2 separate regions of the Homo sapiens genome follow, and region 1 is linked to region 2. The links are contacts of gene promoters, found by promoter capture Hi-C in human tissues and cell types (Jung and others, 2019). All regions are on one chromosome and are shown on one strand. Each heading gives the region's core, a stretch centred on a gene start or on the middle of the fragment in contact. The rest is flanking DNA. Distances are from core to core; before and after follow the strand shown.

The links. Contacts are between HindIII fragments. The study calls those that stand out against the background at their distance.
Region 1: a contact is called between a fragment that was not itself captured here and the fragment with the promoter of BCL7A in region 2, in 1 of the 25 tissues and cell types used here (aorta).

The regions. Positions count from the first base shown.
Region 1 is chr12:121,540,366-121,547,585 of GRCh38, reverse strand. All of the region lies in intron 6 of KDM2B (lysine demethylase 2B), which reads left to right. Among named protein-coding and RNA genes, the nearest start is that of KDM2B-DT, 37 kb to the left of the region's middle. RefSeq lists an enhancer at 1-614. The HindIII fragment of the contact is 8,624 bases long and covers 889-7,220 here.
Region 2 is chr12:122,019,089-122,026,317 of GRCh38, reverse strand. BCL7A (BAF chromatin remodeling complex subunit BCL7A) reads right to left here and starts at 4,434. Exons shown (of 6, transcript NM_001024808.3): 1 at 4,135-4,434. The coding sequence starts at 4,226. RefSeq lists silencers at 2,146-2,235, 3,716-3,875, 4,026-4,345, 4,476-4,555 and an enhancer at 3,066-3,881. The HindIII fragment of the contact is 14,578 bases long and covers 1-7,229 here.

The DNA.
Region 1 (7,220 bases), core at 3,951-6,450, 480 kb after region 2:
AGTTGGCGCTGGCGGCCTGAATCCATTAGCATCTGTCTGCTCAGCCCTGCTGCCAGGAATGCCCCCAGGAGCTTCAAGGCTGTGAACTTTTCATTCACTCAGCCCTTAATTCAGTGCATAGTGAGTGCGGACTGCATGCCAGGCTTTGTAAGGGAGGCCAGCAGGCTGGCCCTTGGGCTTCTCAAGGTTTTGCTTTCAAGCTCTCTCTCTCTCTCTTTCTTTAATTACTTTGTAGGCGGTTTTCCTCCCCTTCAAGCTGAAGCTCCATCCATGCCTTGGATCTGGGCTGCATCAAAGGCAGAGACTGGGCTCGAGGTGGGGAGGGAGCAGGGCTTGTTTTCAATTCCATTCTGTTTGGATTCAGTCGCAGCAAAATTGACAGAGCTCCTGGGATGGGGAAGTAAAAACAGGAACAAGACTACAAGCCCCTACCCTCTGGAGAAAGTGCTGTGCCTCGCGTAGGGGCCTGAGGTGTGGCTCCAGTCCTGGGAGGGGAGCAGGGACTAGAGGAATCCCATTTGGCTGGTGTCATCAGGGGACATCCCCTTCTTGGAGAGGACATTCTTCCTGAGCTTCAAATGACAGAGGAGGCCAGGTGCGGTGGGTCACACCTGTAATCCCAGCACTTTGCGAGGCCAAGAGGGGGCAGATCACCTGGGGTCAGGAGTTTGACACCAGCTTGGCCAACATGGTAAAACCCCATCTCTACTAAAAAAATAAATTAGCCAGGTGTGGTGGTGGGTGCCTGTAGTCCCAGCTGCAGGAAGCAGAAGATTTGCTTGAACCTGGGAGATGGAGCTTACAGTGAGCCGAGATGGCATCACTGCACTCTAGCCTGGGTGACAGAATGAGAGCATGTCTCAAAAAAAAAAAAAGACAAAGAGGCTGGGCGCGGAGGCTCACACCTGTAATCCCAGCACTTTGGGAGGCCGAGGTGGGCAGATCACGAGGTCAGGAGATCGAGACCATCCTGGCTAACATGGTGAAACCCCGTCTCTACTAAACAAACAAACAAAAAAAAAAAACCAAAAAAAAATTAGCCGGGCATGGTGGCGGGCGCCTGTAGTCCCAGCTACTCGGGAGGCTGAGGCAGGAGAATGATGTGAACCCAGGAGGTGGAGCTTGCAGTGAGCCGAGATCGCGCCACTGCACTCCAGCCTGGGTGACAGAGCGAGACTCCGTCTCAAAAAAAAAAAAAAAAAAAAAGGCAAAAAAAAAAGACAGAGGAGATGGGAGAGAAGTGAAAAGGGCCCCGAAAAAAGGCTGTGGGACTCAGAGATTATTAGTTAGAGGCAGATGATGGCTCATTGATTGATTGAGATGATGGTTCATTGATTGGTTGATTGATTCATTCATTCATTCAGCGCCTATGTCTTGAGCCCTTGATTGGTGCTGAGTACTGGGGTTTACAGTGGGGAGGAAACCAGAAGAGGTTCCTGCTCTCCTGGAGCATACACAGTGTATGGGGGAGACAGATGTAAATCCAGTAATCACAGAAATAGATGGGAACTTGCAGCTGCGATGAGGCCCACAGTGCCCCAGAGCTGGTACTAGGGGAGGAGATTCGCCCAGTCAAGGTGGTCGGGGAAGGTGTTCTGAGCTGGAGTCTGAAGGCTGAGCAGGGTTACTTAGGTGAAGAAGACTGGGAGGGCTTTCCTGGCTGTGTGTAGTCGACTTGGGATGGTGGGGAGGGGCAGGGGACCTGTGGAAGGAAGGCCAGTGGGGCTGGAACAGAGGCAGTGAATGCAGGGTGGGTGTGGGGTGGGCCAGGCAGAACAGAGGGTCTGCATTTCCTGTAAGAACAGCTGGAATCCTCTCCAAGATTTTGAGCAGAGAGAAATGTGTTCAGGTTTGCATTCTGCAGGTCCTCTTGTTGCTATGGGGATTGGATGGCGTGGGGGCACGTGAACATGAGGAGGCCACGGCATGGTGTGGAATTGGGAGTGACGGGCAGGGAGAGCGGAGGGGCTGAGGGTCCAGCTGGACATAGATTTAGGAATGCAAAAGAGACTGCGCTGGGTGACACAGATTTCAGTTTCATAATTAATGCCTACCTTGCCTTCCTGAGATACTCAGCATATTCTGCACTTTATTGAAAGATTCCTTTAAATAGTAAGCTCTATTAATATATTGAGGATCCTATCTAATTACCAAAAAAAAAAGTGAGGCTCACACACTCATTTTTTTTTCTTTTTTTAAAACCGTTGTCTGTCACTGTGCACACACTGCCAGTTTTCTAGGACCATTTGTCTTGGGGTCGAATTGTGTGGCGAATAGAGCTACGGACCCCGTCAGTGGTCATGGGAACTGGTTAGAGGATTCGAACCTCGTTAGGAAGGAAATTGTCATCTTGGAAATAGTCCATTTGTTTTGCTGAAAAGAATACCGATTTCAGTTAATAAGCAAGGTAAAAAAAATCCCACCCTGATGAAGTCCTCCGGGATCGTAGAACAGTTCTGTAGAATTTAATTAAGATGACATTGTTTCTAGAAATCATGGAGCTTTCATGCTGGAGGCCCTGGAGGGTAGAGATGGCTGTCAGCACACCTGAGGGAAGGACTGCAGTAGGGAAGAGAGAAGTGACACAGACACACGACTGCTTCCCCCACCCGGCTCCAGGACTTTTGGTGATGGGCTTAGGAATTTTTAAAAATTTTTTAATTTTTATTTTTTTAGAGAGGGTCTCACTCTGTTGCCCAGGCTGGAGTGCAATGGCACGATCTCGGCTCACTGCAACCTCCGCCTCCCAGGTTCAAACGATTCTCCTGCCTCAGCCTCCCAAGTAGCTGGGATTACAGGCACCCACCACCACACCCAGCTAATTTTTGTATTTTTAGTAGAGACAGGGTTTCACCATGTTGGCCAGGCCGGTCTCGAACTCCTGACCTCAGGTGATCTGCCCGCCTTGGCCTCCCAAAGTACTGGGATTACAGGCGTGAGCCACCACACCTGGCTGATTTTTTCTTTTTTTGGGGGGGGACGGAGACTCACTGTGTTGTCCAGGCTGGAGTGCGGTGGTATGATCTCAGCTCACTGCAACCTCCGCCTCCCGGGATCAAGCGATTCTCCTGCCTCAGCCTCCCGAGCAGCTGGGACTACAGGTGTGCACCAACACACCCGGCTAATGTTTATATTTTTAGTAGAGACGGGGTTTCACCATGTTGGCCAAGCTGGTCTTGAGCTCCTGACCTCAGGTGATCACCTGCCTTGGCTTCCCAAAGTGCAGGGATTACAGGTGTGAGCCACCATGCCCAGCCAGGAATCTTTTTGTTTATTTGTTTTTTATTTTTTGGAGACAGAGTCTTGCTTTGTTGCCCAGGCTGCAGTGTAGTGCACAGTCCTAGCTTACTGCAGCCTTAAACTCCCAGGACTCCTCCTACCTCAGCTTCCTGAGTGATCCTCCTACATCAGCCTCCTGAGTAGCTAGGACTATAGGTGTGTACCTGGCTTTTTTTTTTTTTTTTTTTTTTTGAGGCAGGGTCTCTCTCTGTTGCCCAGGCTGGAGTGCAGTGGCGCAATTGTGGGTCGTTGCAACTTCCTCCTCCCAGGCTCAAGCAATCCTCCCTTTCTCAGCCTCCCGAGCAGCTGGGACCATAGGCACACACCACCACGCCTGGCTAATTTTGTTAGATATGGGGTTTCGCCATGTTGGCCCAGGCTGGTCTTGACCTCCTGGACTCAAGTGGTCCACCGACCTTGGCCTCCCAAAGTGCTGGGATTACAGGTGGGGTGTGCCACTACTCCTGGCCTAATTTTGTTTTTTGTTTTTTAGACGGAGTCTCACTCTGTCGCCAGGCTGGAATGCAGTGGCATGATCTCGACTCACTGCAACCTCTGACTCCCTGGTTAAGTGATTCCCTCAGCCTCCTGAGTAGCTGGGATTACAGGCACACGCCACCATGCCCAGCTAATTTTTGTATTTTTAGTAGAGATGGGGTTTCACCATGTTGGCCAGGATGGTTTCGATCTCCTGACCTCGTGATCTGCCCACCTCGACCTCCCAAAGTGCTGGGATTACAGGCATGAGCCACCAGGCCCGGCTGATCTTTTTAAAAATTAAAAAATTTTTTTTTAAATTTGTAGAGATGGCAGCAGGGGGATGTCTCTGTGTTACCCAGGCTGGTCTTGAACTCCTGGCCTCAAGTGATCCAGATAGTTACAAATATGGGTGTGAGCCACCATGCCCAGCTGGCTTAGGACTCAGTGTTTTTCTTTTCTTTTTTCTTTTTTGAGAAAGAGTTTCACTCTGTCGCCCAGGCTGGAGCGCAGTGGTGAGATCTCAGCTTACTGTAACCTCCACCTCTGGGGTTCAAGCGATTCTCCTGCATCAGCCTCCCAAGTAGCTGGGATTACAGGCTCCCGCCATTACACCCAGCTAATTTTTGTATTTTTAGTAGAGACAGGGGTTTCGCCATGTTGGCCAAGTTGGTCTTGAACTCCTGACCTCAAGTGATCTACCCGCCTCAGCCTCCCAACGTGCTGGGATTACAGGCATGACCCATGACCCACTGCGCCGGGCCTCAGTGATTTTTATTTTAGTTGAGATACTTAAAAACAGGTAGGAGTAATAGGAGTGGAGTGGGGGTAGTTGCACCTTCACAGAGACAAAAGATTTGCAAGGAGTATGTTAATTTATTAGTTATCTTATGTGCAAGACATGATTCTATGTAGTAGTGGGTGGACTTCAGTGCATAAAGCCAAGTCCCCATTCTCGTGGAGCATACATTGTGGTGGGAAAAAAGAGACAGGAAAGCCAATGAGGGAATAATTTAGGAGGTTTAATGGTCATGGAGAAACATAAAGCAGGAAAAAGGATTGGGCTGAATGAATACTGAAGACAAGGTGCATCTCTGCCAATGGCCTTTTTCTTCATCTGTACCCTGCAGGAATGCATTGGATGTATAGAACCATTTGTCTTAGAAAATTCCTTATAACCAAATAGATAGTGACTGTTATTTGGGAGTATTCCTGCATTAGTTGCTTATTGCTGTATAATTATTCTAAAACTTCAGAGCTTAAGAAAAATTTTAGCAGCTTAAAACATCAAACATTATCTCACAGTTTCTGTGATTCAGGAATCTGGGAACAACTGAGCTGGGTGGTTCTGGCTCAGGGTCTCTTATAAGCTTGTGTTAGGCCTTGGCCATGTGTGGTGGCTTACGCCTGTAATCACAGCACTTTGGGAGGCCAAGGGGGGTGGAGTGCTTGAGCCCAGGAGTTCAAGAGCAGCCTGGCCAACATAGTGAGAAATGTTGCAGTGGGGGGAATGATGTAGGCCTGGGCTGCAGTCAGCTGAAGCCTCTATGGGCTGGAAGATCCGCTTCCAAGATGGTGCATCCCCGTGGCTGTTGGCAGGAGGCCTCAGTTCCTTGCCACATATAGCTCTCCATAGGTCTGCTTGAGTGTCCTCATGATATGGCAGTGGGTTCCCCATAGTGAATGGTTCAAGAAACACCAAGGAGGAAGCCACAGTGCCATTTATGACCTAATTTTGAAAGTCACATATTGTTTGCTCCTGCCATATTCTGTTAATTAAAAGTAAATCACTAAGTCCAGCTCATACTCAAGGGGAGGAGAATTTAGCTCTGCCTCTCGAAGGGAGGTGTATCAAAGCATTTGTAGACATGTTTCAAAGCCTCCACAGTTGCCTAGTTCTATGACATGGGCTCACCTTTTTCACTTAGCACCGCTGGGTTCTGTGATAGATTCCAGAAGTGGATTAGTGAGTCTCCTCCCCTCCTTTGCTCCTGTAGAATACAGGTTTGTAGAGATCAAGTTTCTTGGTGGAATGAAGATATGCTGTGATCTGACAAGCAGTAAAGGAGCTCAAAAGCCCAGCAAAATGGGGACCCCACATAAAGCATAGGTTTGGCCCTCAGATAATTGATAGTTGAGTGGGTTCTCTTCCCTGTGTACTTTCTGGGGGTGGCAGGAGGAACTGGGGAAATTGTTGGGGGAGTGAGAACCTGACACACAGAGAAGAGGAAACAGAGGCACTGGGCTGGGCACATTTTGGGGCACATTTTGTGTACATTTTGGGGCTTCTGCTACTCTCTCACTCCAGCAAGGCTTTCTTTTTTTTTCTCTTTTATCTATAGGATTCTGCTTGATAAATAAAATTTCCCTCCCTCTCTCCCTCCCTCCCTCCCTCCTTCCCTCCGTCCTTCCTTTTTTTTTTTTTTTTTTTTTTGAGACAGGGGCTGTCTCTGTTGCCAAGGCTTCAGTGCAGTGGCACAATCACAGTTCATTGCAGCCTCAGAGTCCTGGGCCCAAGGCATCCTCCTCCCTCCTTCTGGAGTAGCTGGCACTACAGGTGTATGCCACTATCCCCTGGCTTATTTATTTATTTATTTTGAGTGGAGTTTCACTCTTGTTGCCCAGGCTGGAGTGCAATGGTGCGAGCTCTGCTCACCCCAACCTCCGCCTCCTGGGTTCAAGCGATTCTCCTGCCTCAGCCTCCTGAGTAGCTGGGATTACAGGCATGTGCCACCACGGCTGGCTAATTTTGTATTTTTAGTAGAGACAGGGTTTCTCCATGTTGGTCAGGCTGGTCTCGAACTCCCAACCTCAGGTGATCCACCCGCCTCGGCCTCCCAAAGTGTTGGGATTACAAACTCAAGCCACTGCACCTGGCCCATCCTCTTGAAGGGACTGTTTCTTCTTCTACAATGTAGGGGTCCTGCCATCTCTGCCCTGCCTTCTTCCCATGCTATGGGGGAGACAGAGCCCACAGTGGATGTGGAAGAGTGTTCACAGGTGGGCAAGATATTTGTCCATGTGGCTGCATTGGAATTCTGGCATCCTCTACTTTTTTTTTTTTTTTTTTTTTTTGAGACAGAGTCTCGCTCTGCTGCCCAGGCTGGAGTGCCGGTGATGCAATCTCGGCTCACTGCAACCTCTGCCTCCCGGGTTCCAGTGATTCTCCTGCCTCAGCCTCCCGATTTAGCTGGAACTACAGGCATGCAACACCACACCCGGCTAATTTTTTTGCATTTTTTCAGTAGAGACAGAGTTTCACCATGTTGGCCAGGCTGGTCTTGAACTCCTGACCTCAGGTGATCCGCCTGCCTCAGCCTCCCAAAATGCTGGGATTATAGGTGTGAGCCACTGCACCTGGCCCTCATCCTCTACTTTTCAGTCAACCCTCCTTCACATCCGTATGGGGCTTTTATGTCTACATTGCACATTCACCCTTAACCTCAAGACCTACTCTCTCATCA
Region 2 (7,229 bases), core at 3,185-5,684:
ACGAGGGTCACCATGCCTGTCTAATTTTTTTCTTTTTTTTTTTTTTTTTTTGAGACGGAGTCTCGCTCTGTCGCCCAGGCTGGAGTACAGTGGTGCAATCTTGGCTCACTGCAAGCTCTGCCTCGTGGGTTCATGCCATTCTCCTGCCTCATCCTCCCAAGTAGGTGGGACTATAGGCGCCTGCCACCACTCCCGGCTAATTTTTTGTATTTTTAGTAGAGATGGGGTTTCACTGTTAGCCAGGATGGTCTCGATCTCCTGACCTCGTGATCCTCCCTCCTCGGCCTCCTAAAGTGCTGGGATTACAGGTGTGAGCCAACGTGCCCGGCCTTTTCTCTTTTCTTTCTTCTTTTTTTTTTTTTTTTTTTTTTGAGATGGAGTCTTGCTCTGTTGCTCAGGCTGGAGTGCAGTGGCGCGATCTCGGCTTACTGCAACCTGCGCCTCCCAGGTTCAAGCAATTTTCCTGCCTCAGCCTTAAGAGTAGCTGGGATTACAGGCGTGTACCACCACATCCAGCTAATTTTTTGTATTTTTAGTAGAGACAGGGTTTCACCATGTTGGCCAGGCTGGTTTCCAACTCCTGACTTCAGGTGACCTGCCTGCCTCGGCCTCCCAAAGTGCTGGGATTACAGGCATGAGCCACTGCGTCCAGACTAATTTTTCTTTTTTCTTCTTCTTCTTTTTTTTTTTTGAGATGGAGTCTCGCTCTGTTGCCCAGGCTGGAGTGCGGTGGCGCAATCTCCGCTCACTGCAAGCTCCACCTCCTGGGTTCCCGCCATTCTCCTGCCTCAGCCTCCCAAGTAGCTGGGACTACAGGCGCCCGCCACCACGCCTGGCTAATTTTTTTGTATTTTTTTAGTAGAGACGGGGTTTCACCATGTTTGCCAGGATGGTCTTGATCTCCTGACCTCGTGATCCGCCTGCCCGGCCTCCCAGAGTGCTGAAATTACAGGCGTGAGCCACCGCGCCCGGCTCTTTTTTTTCTTTTTCTTTTTTTTTGGTTTGAGACCCAGGCTGGTCTCAAACTCCTGGGCTCAAGCAATCCTCCTGTCTCAGCCTCCCAAAGCTCTGGGATTACAGGCGTGAGCCACCGCAGCGGGCCTCCAAGCTTACGCTGCAGCCCAAGCTTTCGTCTCCTACCATCGCCCTGGGGTCTTCTCTCCTCCACCAGCACAGGGCCCCCAAACCCTGGCCCAGTTTCCCAAAAAGAGGCCCACCATTTTGTTTTCCCTTTAGCCATCTTCTGGTCACCTCACCTCCACTGGCCTGCCTTGCTGAAACACCAGAAAAAGAGAACAGGAGGCAGCCTGCCCCAAATGAGAGGGAGGCCACAGCTTTTTCCGGGGGTGGGGGAAGCATCAGGGGACAGTGGGTGGGTCGGGGGGGTAATTTTAGGGGTCACTAGGGCTGAGGAGAAACCCACCCAAGGCTCATGGGGCCAAATGATCTGCCAAACACTTCGGCTTCCCTCTGGGTAAAATACAGGGTGCCCTGTTAAATTTGCATTTCAGATAAATTAGATAATGTTTTAGTATAAGTGTGTCCCAAATATTGCATGAGACATACTCAAAAACATTTATTTTTAAAAAAATCTTTCATTGTTTATCTGAAATTCAAATTTAACTGGGTGTGCTGTATTTTTATCTGGTTAAACCTGGCAACCCCACCCCCCCACCAGTGGTGAAATGCATGGTTGGTGACCACACAATTAATAAACAACCCACAGTCTCATGGGCTGAGTCTAAGACCCAATCCGAAGGCGCGGGGAAGGTGAGATATGGCTTCTCAGGGGCCAGAGAAACCTGGGCAATAAGTCCAAGGCTTTCGCTTAGAAGGGGCCAAAAAAAAAAAAAAACAAAAAACCTCAAAGCCAAGTTTCTACAAAGTCCACCTTACAACACAGACAACACTGAGCAACAGCTCCTCCTGCGCCCAGGGCGCGGTGCTCTCGGAGGCATGACCTCAATCGTCCTCAATAACCCGAGGGGACCTGGAAGCCAAGCACAAAACCCCGGGTCACCATGGTTAGAGAAGTGACAATGATATGCCCAAGGTCGCGGCAACGAAGTGAACTGGAAGCTGGACCATGAGATCCCAAAGCCTGAGGTCTTCAGAGGACACGATGTGTTGTTTCCCCAAACCCAGGGAGGCGCAGAGGTACAGCCCCTCAAGCTCCAACTACAGGCCTGGTCCCCGCGGGGTCAGCGGGCTGGAAGGCCTCCAGGCCGGCCGCCCCGGGGCCCGCGGGGTGGGAAGCCCCATCTCTCCATCTGCCCTCCCTGCAGAGCAGCTGGCCGCTCTGCGGGAGCAGCTGTCAGGGTGCAGGAGCCTCTGTCCAGCCGGGAACCTGGAGTAGGAGGCCCCACCACGCCTCCTCGAGCAGAGAAAGGCGGCTTGCCGGCTGTTTCCCAACCTCCAGGCCGGCGACAGAAGGGACCCAGGCACAGACACCAGTTCTTTCTTTGCACAGGGGCTGAGGCAAGGAGGGGAGCAACTCCGGGCTTCCCGCGGGGAATCCCACAGTAGAGGGGGCTGCGGGTTGTTTTCCAGCGTGTGTGTGTTGGCCTGCAGCTGTTTCTGCCATTTTTAAATGGCTCCAGTCGGGCACCGGGCACCCTGTGTACCAGGGGAGCTCCCGAGACACCGACGACTTGGATCTCAACTTTGGAAAGCCTCCCCTTCTCACGGTTCTGAAAATTCTTTGTCCCACTGGAGCCAAACCCAGCCCACGGCCGGGCATCCGGCCATCGCAGCCAGCCCTTTCCATAGGAGGCCGGGGAGCACGTGGACTTTATTGATTTTCCTCTTGCCTTTTTTGTTGGGTTTGACTCAGAAAGGACAGCTAACTTGTGACACCGCCACACCGGAGGCTCGCCCCCAGTGGCTTTTAGAGACCGAGGCGCTACTCGAGAAACGACACCCCCAAACGTAAACATCCCCTGCCACAGGGCCTGCCCAGCTTCCAGGCTCGAAATAAAGGGTCGAGACGAGCCCGCGGGCGCTGACACTCAGAGCCAGCGTTGCGGCGGCTCCTCTCCCTCCGGGACCCCAGTGAAGGCGTGGGAAAAAAATAATAAAGTTGAAATCAGGCAGCGGGGAGTTTTCAACAACTCTGACCCAACCTGGCGATCTGCTTGCGCCTCGGGCCTGGCCCAGGGGCCGATTCCGAGCAGACCCCGACGAGGCCGCGGAAAGGTTCGATCCCCTTAATGTCGACCGGGCCACGCCGGGCGGACGCTAATGTGATCCCGAAAACCACGCGCGGCCGCCACCAAGTCCCCCTCTCCCCGGTGCAGAGAACAAAAACAACAGCTCCCTCCGCAAAACAAACACGAGCTCCCGGTGTGGAGAGGCAGCCGCGGCCCAGGACGAACGGCTTCTGGCCAAAAACATCGGCTGGCCCGAGCCCCCCGCCCGGGGCGCCGCGCAGAGCGGGGTGGGACGTGGGCGCCCCGCGCCCCTGGCCGCTGGCTCCCAGCGCTCGCCCCCATCTTTCCTGGTCGCCGAGAGCCCTCGCTCCAGGCAGCCCAAAGCGCTAAATTTAAACGGCTCGCGCTCTGCAAACTCCGCAGACTCGAGGGCGCCGGGCCCGGGAGGCGGGAGCGGGCGGCCGGGCGGGCCGGGGCTGGCGGAGGGCGGCGGGGCGCGGGCCGGGGTGCGCGGGGAGGAGACGGCGGCGGCGGCCCGCTCGGAGCCTGCACAATGGAGCTCGCGCTCTCCCCGCCGCCGCCGGCATCGCGGCCCCGGCGCGCGGGAAGCCGCTTTCATGTGACTTGCACAAAACGAAATGGCTTCTGGGGCCGGCCCCGAGCCCCCCTCCCGGGAGCCGAGCGCCGCGGCGGGGGCCGCCCCGCCGCTCCAACCGCCTGGCCCCGGCGCCCGCCGCCTCCGGGCCGCCGCGCCAGGTGGGCTACAGGCGCGAGCGCACCTGGGCAGCGGCCGCGGCCCCAGCCTGGCGCAGGTGACCCGGCTCGCGCGCCGCCCGCCCGTCCGCCCGCCCTCGCCAAGTCCCGGGGCCCGCGGCGGGGCTGGGCCGGGGCAGGCGGCCGGGGCGCTGCGCCCCGCGGCTCTCTGGAGCCGCGCTCGGGCTCGGGGCGGCCGGGGAGGCGGCTGGCGGCGGGCGCCTCCGCTTACCATTTGCGCACTTTCTCGATCGCCGCCATGACCCTCTTGATATCATCTTTGGCCCGGCTCCTCGTCTCGGCTCGAACCGACCTGCCCGACATGGTTCCGGCGGGGAGACGGAGGCTGGGGAGCGCGCCCGCCGGGTCCTGCTCGCGCTCCGCGGCGGCCACACTCGCGCCCGCCCGCCGCTCACTCACTCGCGCACAGACACTCGCACTCTCACACGCACACACTCACACACACACACACACACACACACACATACACACACACACAAAGCCCGGGGCCGCCGCGCGCCTGGCCCAGTGCGCAAGCGCCGGGCGGCAGCTGCACAGAGCAGGGGGAGCCGCGCCGCCGCCGCCGCCGGCAGTGCGGCCTCCGGGCGCCGCGGCCACCGGGCAGCGCCCCCGGGCCTCCTGCGCCCCCAGAGGGGACGCCCCGGACGCCCTCCTGGGGAGGTGGCGAAGGGCGCACGGCGACCCCCGGCTCTGGGCGCGCGGTGGGGGCGGGCGTGCGGACACGCGCGCTGACCCTTCCTCGGAGGCTGCAGGTGCCGAGGGGTCCATGGGAGACAGCCGGTCTGCGGGGCGCGGGGGGGTCGCGTTCCCCGGGAGCCAGCCCAGCTGCCCCTGCCCAGCCCCCAGAGCGCGGCGGCGGGTGCAGTCGTGCAAGTTTCTTGCGGGTCTCTTGACTTCTCCGAGTTGAAGGCACCGGTTCGGGACGCGAGGTGCTCTTGGAAAGAGTTGGGCATCGCGCATCTCTGCTGGCCCGCGGCCCTGTTCAAATGCGAGCTAGGACGTCGCCTGCCCCAGGCTTTGTCCTTTTGGAAAACTAGGGTTGTAGGAAGGTGCCTGGTGCCAGGCAGACCACCAGAGACTCTCGACCTTGAGTACTAAAGAGTTTTCTGCTCAGCAAAAGCTCAATGATGATCAGCATCGTAACAGGGACTCTTCCTCCCGCCCCCAGAAGTTCTCTTGTCATAAACAAGGCGAGGGGGTCTTCGCTGAGCTTCACCAGAGGACCACGATTTCACCTTAAGCCATTCCTGACTTCAGTACCAGACTGAGACCAGGCGCTGCTACTGCCCAAATGACCCCTGGTCCCATCTACAAGGAGCACTTTTGAGGCCTCAGAACAGAGCCCCGGGGAGAAATCTGCGATGATCAGGGTAACCTGGGTGCCGCATCTTGCTGTTCAGCTGCAGCGGAACCGGCCGGACCAGAGCTAATGCGCGCCCAGAATGAAGAGGGAGACCGAGAGTGGCCCAAATGTCAGCGCCCCGGGCCTGGAGATGACAGCCCGACAGCAGCCATTTCACAGCTGGGGAAACTGAGTCCTGGGAAAGTTTAAGGTTGCAGCCTTAAGTTGTTACTCATTCTAGACGTTTCCCCTGAGGGTTTGGTCTTTGGGGAACACGCTACTGTGGAAATGGAGAGACCGCAGGCCTTTTCCTAGGCATTTGTTTTTACTATTCTGAAACGCAGTCTCCTGACGTGAAAAATGAAGAAAAGAACAAATACTGGCCGGGCGCGGTGGCTCATGCCTGTAATACCAGCACTTTGGGAGGCCGAGGCGGGTGGATCACTTGAGGTTAAGAGTTCGATACCAGCCTGGCCAACATGGTGGGTGAAACCCCGTCTCTACTAAAAATACAAAAATTAGCCGGGCGCGGTGGTGGGCTCCTGTAATCGCAGCTACTCGGGAGTCTGAGGCAGGAGACTCGCTTGAACCTGGGAGACGGAGGTTGCAGTGAGCAGAGATCCAGCCACTGCACTCCAGCCTGGGAGACAGAGTGAGACCCTGTCTCAGAAAAAAAAAAAAGGCCGGGCGCGGTGGTTCATGCCTGTAATCCCAGCACTTTGGAGGCCGAAGTGGGCAGATCACGAGGTCAGGAGTTCGAGACCAGCCTGGCCAACATGGAGAAACCCTGTCTCTACTAAAAATACAAAAATTAGCTGGGCGTGGTGGTGCAGGCCTGTAATCTGAGCTACGCGGGAGGCTGAGGCAGGAAAATGCTTGAACCTGGGAGGCAGAGGTGCAATGATCATGCCATTGCACTCCAGCCTGGGCAACAGAGCAAAACTGAATCTCAAAAAAACAAAACAAAACAAAATAAAACAAAACAAAACAAAAAAAGAAAGAGAGAAAGAAAAAGAAAAAAAAGAGAAAGAGAAAGAAGGACTTCAGAGAATCGTTCCGAGAATTTTCTGGGAAAATATGCAACAGCAGGTCATAAAACAGATCTCACAGAGATATGTGAGATCAATAGGTATGTGCTTTGGGCCACATGAAACTTTAAAAAAATGTATCTTAAAATTTAAAATAGGAAAATATTATGTCAGAATTCAAATAGTGACTGAGGAACAGATAAATGTGTCTATCCACACAATGGAATATTATTCAGCCATAAAAGGGAATGAATACATGCTACAACATGGGTGAACCTTGAAACACGCTAAGTGAAAGAAGCCAGTCACAAAAGGATAAATATGCGTAAGTCCATTTGCGGGAGATATCTACAACTAGGCGAATCCATAAAGACAGATATCAGATTGGTGGTTGCCAGAGGCAAGGGGGAGGGAGAGCAGGAGTGACTGCTAACGGATGTGGGGTTTCCTTTCGGAGTGATAGGAAAGTTCTGGAATGAGATAGTGGTGATGGTTGCAGAACAATGTGAATGTACTTAATGACGCTGAATTGTACACTTTTAAATGGTTACAATGGTCAATTTTATGTGTATTTGATCATAATAAAAAGAAATCTAGGCTGGGCGCGGTGGCTCACATCTGTGATTCCAGCACTTTGGGAGGCCGAGGTGGGTGGACTGCTAGAGGCCAGGAGTTTGAGACCAGCCTGGGCAACATGGTGAAACCCCATCTCTACAAAAAATTCAAAAAATAGCCAGGTGTGGTTGTGCGCATCTGCAGCCCCAGCTGCTCAGGAGGCTGAGGTGGGGAAGATGGCTTGAGCCCAGAACGTAGAGGCTGCAGTGAGCCAAGATCATGCCACTGCATGAAGCAAAGAAAGAGAGAGAGAGAGAGAGAGAGAGAAAAGAAAGAACGAAAGAAAGAAAGAAGAAAAGAGAGAGGGATGAGGAGAAGGAG